3 separate regions of the Homo sapiens genome follow, and regions 2 and 3 are each linked to region 1. The links are contacts of gene promoters, found by promoter capture Hi-C in blood cells and fetal thymus (Javierre and others, 2016). All regions are on one chromosome and are shown on one strand. Each heading gives the region's core, a stretch centred on a gene start or on the middle of the fragment in contact. The rest is flanking DNA. Distances are from core to core; before and after follow the strand shown. Region 1 overlaps BLOC1S1 (biogenesis of lysosomal organelles complex 1 subunit 1). Region 2 holds the start of CTDSP2 (CTD small phosphatase 2). Region 3 holds the start of METTL1 (methyltransferase 1, tRNA methylguanosine).

What was found. Contacts are between HindIII fragments. The CHiCAGO score rates a contact against its expected background, and 5 or more counts as called.
Region 2: the fragment with the promoter of CTDSP2 here is called in contact with a fragment that was not itself captured in region 1 in 3 of 17 cell types (monocytes, non-activated CD4 T cells and activated CD4 T cells); the score reaches 7.5 in monocytes.
Region 3: the fragment with the promoter of METTL1 here is called in contact with a fragment that was not itself captured in region 1 in 1 of 17 cell types (activated CD4 T cells); the score reaches 6.1 in activated CD4 T cells.

What each region holds. Positions count from the first base shown.
Region 1 is chr12:55,717,197-55,719,732 of GRCh38, reverse strand. BLOC1S1 (biogenesis of lysosomal organelles complex 1 subunit 1) reads right to left here. Exons shown (of 4, transcript NM_001487.4): 3 at 510-642; 4 at 30-234. The coding sequence ends at 124. BLOC1S1-RDH5 (BLOC1S1-RDH5 readthrough) reads right to left here. Exons shown (of 6, transcript NR_037658.1): 3 at 510-642. Among named protein-coding and RNA genes, the nearest start is that of RDH5, 1.9 kb to the left of the region's middle. RefSeq lists enhancers at 1,473-1,632, 1,743-1,792, 1,893-2,052. The HindIII fragment of the contact is 2,957 bases long and covers 1-2,536 here.
Region 2 is chr12:57,845,462-57,847,997 of GRCh38, reverse strand. It overlaps CTDSP2 (CTD small phosphatase 2), which reads left to right and starts at 1,269. Exons shown (of 8, transcript NM_005730.4): 1 at 1,269-1,626. The coding sequence starts at 1,563. RefSeq lists silencers at 788-967, 1,038-1,117, 1,128-1,557, 2,148-2,447. The HindIII fragment of the contact is 5,566 bases long and covers 1-2,536 here.
Region 3 is chr12:57,770,831-57,773,366 of GRCh38, reverse strand. METTL1 (methyltransferase 1, tRNA methylguanosine) reads left to right here and starts at 1,262. Exons shown (of 6, transcript NM_005371.6): 1 at 1,262-1,393; 2 at 2,110-2,273. The coding sequence starts at 1,284. It overlaps EEF1AKMT3 (EEF1A lysine methyltransferase 3), which reads right to left and starts at 753. Exons shown (of 3, transcript NM_015433.3): 1 at 466-753; 2 at 239-350. The coding sequence starts at 642. RefSeq lists enhancers at 589-1,098, 1,229-1,518, 1,204-2,403. The HindIII fragment of the contact is 5,954 bases long and covers 1-2,536 here.

The DNA of each region.
Region 1 (2,536 bases), core at 27-2,526:
TAGTAGCTCTCTGAAACACACCACAGAGAAACGGAGGCTTGTGTTTTATTCAAGGCTTGTCAGCCTCCCTCCTTCCCCCTGCGGGTGAGGTAGGAGGGATAGGGTTGGGGGAGGGAACAGGGGCTAGGAAGGGGCAGACTGCAGCTGCCCTTTGTAGACATATTCCAGTGCAGTGGCAATGGTGCGCATGTCCAGCTCGATGCTCCGAGCCCAGTTCTCCACATCCCCAATTTCCTGGGAAGGGGGAGAGGAGGTGGGAGCCCAGGAATCAGAATGGGTAGAGTATGGCTTCCAGTCTGGGGAATACGTTTTATTCATCTCCTGGAAAAGGCTTTACTTGGACCCACCAACTGCTTTTCTTTCTTTCTCTACCTTTTCTGACACTGGGGCTATAGATGGGGTTTCTGGGACCACCCTACTTCCTCCTTAACCTAAACCTGAGGTAACCTGACTGGAGGCAGCCAATGGGGGCCCAGGATTGGGGTGGTGAGGTAGGGAGTATGGCCCACCTTGAGTGCCTGGTTGAAGTTCTCCACCATTCCGATCCACTGGCCTGTCTGCTTGGCAAATTGGGCAGCCTGGACCTGTAGGGTCTTCACCTCATGGTCCAGCTTTCTCTGGTTCATGTAGGCCTGGGCCACACTGGGGGGTTGGAGGAGGGAGGAGATCAGCTCCAGCTAGTTGGGGGTGGTCTCCGGGACTAATATTCCATTGCAGCAGTGGGAGTTCAGCCAAGAATCAGGGCTCATAATTTTGGCCATTTTTGGATGTGATGCAAATGACTACCAGTACATGCAAATAAACCCAGCTCCTTCCTTTCACTCCCAGGATTCCCAGGAGAGCCAAGCTCGGAGCTGACTAGAAACATACCAGCTCCAAACCCCAAAAAGGAGTTCCTGCAGCTGAGTGGGGGAAGGGAGGGAAAACCTGGGGTGATATCCCTGAGGAAAAAGCTGGGAGGGAAAAAGGGGCATGGAAAAACTGGGAAAATCCAGCAGGAGGAACACATCTGGCAGTGATTGGAAGCCTAGGGATCTATGCAAGAAGTTGGAGAGGGAAATTGGGCCCCTCCCTGAAGCCGGGTTAGGATGGGAGTACAAACCCCCTCCCCAGGAACCCTGGGTCAAAAGAGGGTATCCCAGGGGTTTCTTCTCGGCTCTCAGTTGCTCTCCCAAGCCTTCGCTTTTGCCCACACAGATCAAGGAACACACACAAACACACACACACACACACACACACATGCTCTCCCTCCCTTCTGCCTTAGGCACTAGTTTTTCTTTTCAATCAAGGTATGGGCTGTGGTTACCATTACTACCATGGGGTTGGTGTCCCCAACCTTCTGCCAGTGTTTTTTGCCCTCCCCAACCCCTGCAATAATTGTTCTCCTTTATTGGCTGTTGAATTTTTCACTTCCCACCCCAGAGCTCTACTCAGCCAGGAGATTCCACATCCGGTGCCCCCACCCACTGGAATGTGTGGGGGCTGGAGCGGGGAAGGGGTTGGTGGGGGCTGAGGGAGTGGGCAGGACACCTGACAGGGGCCAAGATAGACTGAGCCTTTGTTTTCCTTTCCGGGGAATGAGAGGAGGCGTGGGCAGCAACACAAAACCCTTTCTAATCTGGCTTTGGCTTAGCTGCCCTCTAAGCTGAAAGTGGGGTGGCATCTAGCAAAGGAAAAGAAGAGGGAAAGGCCTGGGCCAATCTCACAAATGATGGGCACAGCAGAGCCCAGGAGGTGCCAATGTGGGAGGGAGGAAATGGGAGGGCAGACCCTGTTCCTTCTTTTTGGGAGACAGCTGGGTCACTGTCAAGGGTCGGGTAGGAACTGAAACAGACTCCCCTGAGAATTCCTGAACTTCTGGTTTTCCCCATTGACCACCTGCTTCTATATTCACACTGAGTAAAGAGAGCTGCCTGGAGAGAAGGGAGATCAGAGGCCCCAGCCACAACTTTCTTTCTCTCAACCTTCCCCCAAGATGAGTAACAAAGATGACCCCAGCCCCTGCATGGCTCACTTGGATGACTCAGTCTCTGGATTCACACCGAGCTGTTCTACTTGACCTGGGGTGGAAGGTACCATACTGCCTTTCTTCCAATAGGCAGACTAGCAAATCATCATCTCTGCACGCTTCTGGGTCACTTAGGGTCAAGAGACAATGTTCTTTGCTTTTTCCCAAGTCTTTGGCTGTTACTTGCATTCTCATTTAGGGCTGGGGCAGGGTGTGGTCCCTAGAGACCCAATAGGAAGGTAAGAGACAGCCTGGCTCTGCCATAGCTCCCGGAACAGGTTCTACTCTCACCACCACCAGCTCTGCCATCTCTTTCCTGCCAGCTGCTCCCCAGGCTTGCCAGAGGGTGGGAGGCAGAGGAGAGGGTGGTAAGCTGTAATGAAGGAGGGTGCTCTCCCTCCTGCTGAAGTGACAGCTGGACTTGGAAGGGTGAAGGGAGGTGGGCAGATGGCATCAAGTTGTAAATGCCAGGGAAGTTAACGTGGGGAAGGGGAAATCTGGCTGCTTCTCTAACCACGGCAGCTGTTC
Region 2 (2,536 bases), core at 20-2,519, 2.1 Mb before region 1:
AAGCTGAAGCTCCTCCGAGAGACCTCCATCCATCTAAAGGAAGCTGGGACTGTGGGGGCAAAAAGAGAGGGGTAGGATGAGGGAGGTAGGGAGGAGGGGCGGAGTCGGGGCCGCCTAAATGGGAGTAAGTCGGTGGGTGTGAGGAAAGCCCAGCACCTCAGGTCTCATTTTCAGTGTTTTGGGGGACACAGTCCCGAGGTCAGTTCCAGCTCTTATACTCTGGAGTCCTAGGTCCGCCCACACGCACACACCCCTTTCGGGATTCGAAGGTTGTACTTTTTTTTTTTTTTTTTTGAGACAGAGTCTCGCTCTGTCGCCCAGGCTGGAGTGCAGTGGCGCGATCTCGGCTACCTGCAATCTCCGCCTCCCGGGTTCAAGCAAGTCTTTGCCTCAGCCTCCCGAGTAGCTGGGATTACAGGCGCCCGCCACCACGCCCGGCTAATTTTTTTGTATTTTTAGTAGAGACGGGGTTTCACCATCTTGGCCAGGCTGGTCTTGAACTCCTGACCTCGTGATCCACCCACCTCGGCCTTCCAAAGTGCTGGGATTACAGGCGTGAGCCACCGCGCCTGGCCTCGACGGTTGTACTTTTATGTGACTTGGTACGTCCTTGATTCTAGGGCTAAGCAGGGGGGTAAGGTAACTTCCGATCCGCCCCATCCCCTGCTGGAGTCAGGTTAGGCTTAGCGGCTTGTCTTGGTCACCCCTGAAGGGGGAAACCTTTCCACCTTCCCCGAGTGCGCCCTCCGAGAAAAGAACACCCCAGCACAGAGCACCAGAACGTGAGCTTCGGAGCGGCCTTTTAAATAGTTGGGAAGGGGGTGTGGCCGAGGAGACTGGGAGGCCGCAGTCTGGCGCGGGGGGAGTGGCCCGGGGGCGTGGCCGTGGCGCCTGGAATGTTGTTAGGTCCTCTCACCGCATAGTAAGGAGGGGCCACGCCCCTTTTCTCCAAGAGAGCCAATCGGAGCACCGGAACGGTTTCAAGTCTCCCCCGCCAGCCTGCCCGCCCGCCACCCCACCCCCCTTGAGGATTCGCTTTTTCCGTAACAAAATAGCAAAGCTCCCGACTGTCCGCAGCCCCGGCCGCTCACAGATGGAGGGTCCCAGGGCCTAGGACGCAGCCCCCAGCGGGAAGCTCCAGCTGGCCGTGAAGAGGCCGAGTCGAGAGCCGGGAGGCGCGCGGGGGTGGGCGCTGCAGCCGCGGGTTGTTTATCTGGAGTACGGAGGGGAGGGGGGAGCCTGGAAACCGCCCCGTGTCCCATTTCCTCCTCTTGTTTTCGCTCCGGATTCTCCATGTTGGACCCAAACTGAGGAGCCCGGAGCTGCCGCTGGGGGATCGGGGCCGGGGGCACCCGGGGGAGCCGCTGCCCGGGCCGCCCGCCCTTTGTACAGGCCGCCTCCCTTCCCGGTCCGGGGAGGAAACGAGAGGGGGGATGTGAACAGCTGTGGAAGTCGGAGTCTCGGGAGCCGGAGCGGGCCCCCGCCCAGGCCCCCCAGCCCAGCCCAGCCCGCGCGCCCGCCCGTCCTCCCGCCCAGCCAGCCCGGGCCCGCGGGATTGTTAGATGGAACACGGCTCCATCATCACCCAGGCGCGGAGGGAAGACGCCCTGGTGCTCACCAAGCAAGGTAGGGGCAGCAACTTCCCAAAACTTTGCGTCGCCCCCGGGCGCGGAGGGGGCTAGCACAGCCCCGAACCCAGGTCTCGGCCCTTGACCTCCAGGGCTTAGAGCCAGCGATCCCGACTGGACCCCTCCGGTCCATCCGCCCCCGCATCCCGGCTGGCACTCAGACCTCCGTGGGGGTTGCACGGGGATCCCGGCGCCCGAGCGGAAAGGGCGTCTTCGGCGCAGCTGTCACCCTGTCCCGCAACCCCTCCCCCTCGGGGCTGAGAGACGGAGGGGTAGCTCTCGAAGCACTGGGCCACTCCGCGTCCACCGCCTCCGGAGTTGGGGGTGGGGTCGTCACTTTCCTTCACCGCCGCGCGCGGCTGCCCCGGGATCGCGGGGAGGGGTTAGGAAGGTGACAGAGGGAGCCCCAGGTGGAACGGAACCGAGACTGGAGTCCAGCACTTGCAGGCCCCCCCAAGCCCGAGGTCGTTCGGGCAGCTAGCTGGCGGTGACGGCGTCCGGCGGGACTTGGGACCAAGTTCACCTCTTGGAGGCGGGGGCGGTCGCGGTGGGGGAGGGGCCCGGGCCCTGGCGCACCAGACGTGGCGGGTTCCCGGCTCAGCGCAGGCCCCGGGACCTTGGCGGCGTCGGGCTCCCTCCCGGCTGCCTCTGACCAGTTTCGCTGAGCAAACAAGCCCGACCCTGAGGCCCGGCCAGAGCCCCTCCCTGCCCGGTGCGCTCCCCCGGGGCCGGCGCTGCACACACAGAGCCGCGTTTGTTTAGCCCGGGAGCGGTGTCCCTGGTTACATAATTCGCCGGATGGCATCAGACCCGGCGTGGTTCTGAATCGCGCAGCGAAAAAGTGCGAGTTCTCTGTGGGCAGCGGCTGGCGGCCCCCGCCTTCCAGAGCGTCAGGTGGAGGCGCGAGG
Region 3 (2,536 bases), core at 13-2,512, 2.1 Mb before region 1:
TATTTCCTGCCCTCCCCAATCACCCACCCTAGGTGCTTTGACAGGCAATTCGCGCTGTCTGGCACGCAGAAGCAGACGCCAAAATAAAAACAAAAACAAATTTTAAAAAAAAATTTGTTAAAAAGAAGGGGTTAGACTGGGCCCAAAGTTCTCCCCTCTCCCCCAAAGATCCACGAAGTGACCATTTCTCCGCGCCCCTGGGTCCCCACTCTCTCCCGTAAAAAGCCAGCTCACGCACCCTGCAGCGCTGCCAAGATCCCCACGATGCCTGTCCCCGCACCCAGTTCGATCACCTTCTTGCCTCGGAAATCCACATTTTGACTCTCGAAATAATTGCACAGGCTCAGGGCCTACGGGAGAAAAGACAGAGAAAAAGACAGTCGTGAGGATGGCTCCATATGGGAGAGGCGGAGTCCGGGATCTGGACCTCCCACGGACCCTCACCCGGCGCAGCCCATTCCTCACCGCGTCCCACACGCGCGCCGCCACCCCGAGGCGGGACCCAAAGTTCTGCGTGATGGTCAGCACATGCCCACAGAAACAGAACTGGCTCTTCTCCGAGTAAGAGTCTGCAAAGAGCCCGACCTCCCGCGGGAACACCGATTCCGACTCAGATTCGGGATCTGGGCCGGGGTCCGCCATCCGGCCCGCCAAGGGAGTGCCTGGGCACCGCGGCCGGCGCTCAGATCCCGGATCCGGAGCGGGGTAGAGGCTGGGGGCCGCGAGCCGTCGTGGTGTCCCTGTGGAACGAGCCCCGCCTCCCTGAGTTTGCCCTCCTTCCTCCAGTTCGATTTCCTGGAGGTGGAATGAGGAGCTGCCCCTCCCGCCCCGGCCCCGAGCGCACACTCGACGAAACCCACACGGGACCACAAGAGTCAGACCGGGCGGACTGGTCCGAGACCAGGAGTAAGGGGACAGGAGCGAGGACTGATGCCACTGTAGAAGGCGAGGTCTCTAGACCCCTCTCACCTGTGGGGTGCACAGGTGCCTGCAACCAGGATGGTAACCCAGACCAGGCAGAAGCAAGCTAAGAGAAAACGTTGGGTCCCTGGGCCTGGCCTCGCCCTCCCAGTTGGAGGCTAACGGTGCGGAGGTTCCCTCCAGCACTCGCTCCTTACAGCCCTCCCCACCTAGCCCAGCCCAGCCCAGCCCAGCCCAGCTGAATTTGCTCTTGGGTCTTTAAGGGGCGGGAACTGCCACCAACGCGCATGGCTGCGTCATTAACTTGCGCCTCTGGCCTGCGCCTCCACGTGGATTTGGTAGAGAAACCCCGGACTGGGATCATGGCAGCCGAGACTCGGAACGTGGCCGGAGCAGAGGCCCCACCGCCCCAGAAGCGCTACTACCGGCAACGTGCTCACTCCAACCCCATGGCGGACCACACGCTGCGCTAGTGAGGAGTGGGCAGAGGGAGAGAGAGGAGGGCGGGATTCTCAAAGCAGCCGGGAGAGCAGTTGTGCTGCAACTGCTGGGAGGATTTGGGGTAGACCCGGGAGGATCAGATGGGTGACGTCAGTTTTTGGGGGTGGGACCGGGAGATTCGACCGAGAGAGGAGTTGGCGGGTTGAGAGTGGGCGTGGCGTTCGGGCCTAAGTCTGGGTAGCGGTGCTAAGTTTGGGAAGAGAAATAAATTGTTACTGAGACTGAAGTGATAGAGGCAGAATGTCGTTTCCATCTTTTGCTTTTGTTTGTTGGATTTAATAAAAAGGCAAACATATACACAATCCTGCCCGCACCTTACCTTACCTTCCCTCCCCGCAGAGCACAAACACAAAGTAGGATCCCAGTGCATTAGGCAGCCAGTCTCGGGAGAAGGGGAACTTGTGCCCCAGAAAGGGCAGTTACCCGGCCAGGGTCACATCAACCGCCAGAAGTGGAGTTGGGCAGGTCAGCGTTTATGGGCCTCATGATGGTCCTATGATTCACACTGGGAGTTAAGGGTGGTTTCCATTGTCCCTCTTAGAGGCCACAGGGCCCAGTGTTACAGAATTTTTGAGAAACCCTCCTCCCTTTTACCTCCCACCCTCACCCACCCACACACTCTCACAGTACCACTTCTGCAATGGTGTGACCAACCTTCTCATGCTTCTTATGTCTTCTTTCCAATAGCCCTGTGAAGCCAGAGGAGATGGACTGGTCTGAGCTATACCCAGAGTTCTTCGCTCCACTCACTCAAAATCAGAGCCACGATGACCCAAAGGATAAGAAAGAAAAGAGAGCTCAGGCCCAAGTGGAGTTTGCAGACATAGGCTGTGGCTATGGTGGCCTGTTAGGTAACACTCAGGCCCTCTTTTTGGGGTGAGAAGAGGCCTAGTAGCTTCTGCTGCCTCAGCAACTTTTGTGGGGGGTCATAATTGGCCTTTCCCCTTTCGTCCAGACACTGGTGACATCAGCATGGAGAGGCTCCACCTACCCTCTACTCTGGGTCTGTGACCTTTGCCCTGGAGAGTGGAGGGGGCTGCCTCAAATGCTTCTTAAAACCTGGGTTGTCCTTTCTGGCGTCAATCCCTACATGAGCCATTTCATCTGCCAGGTT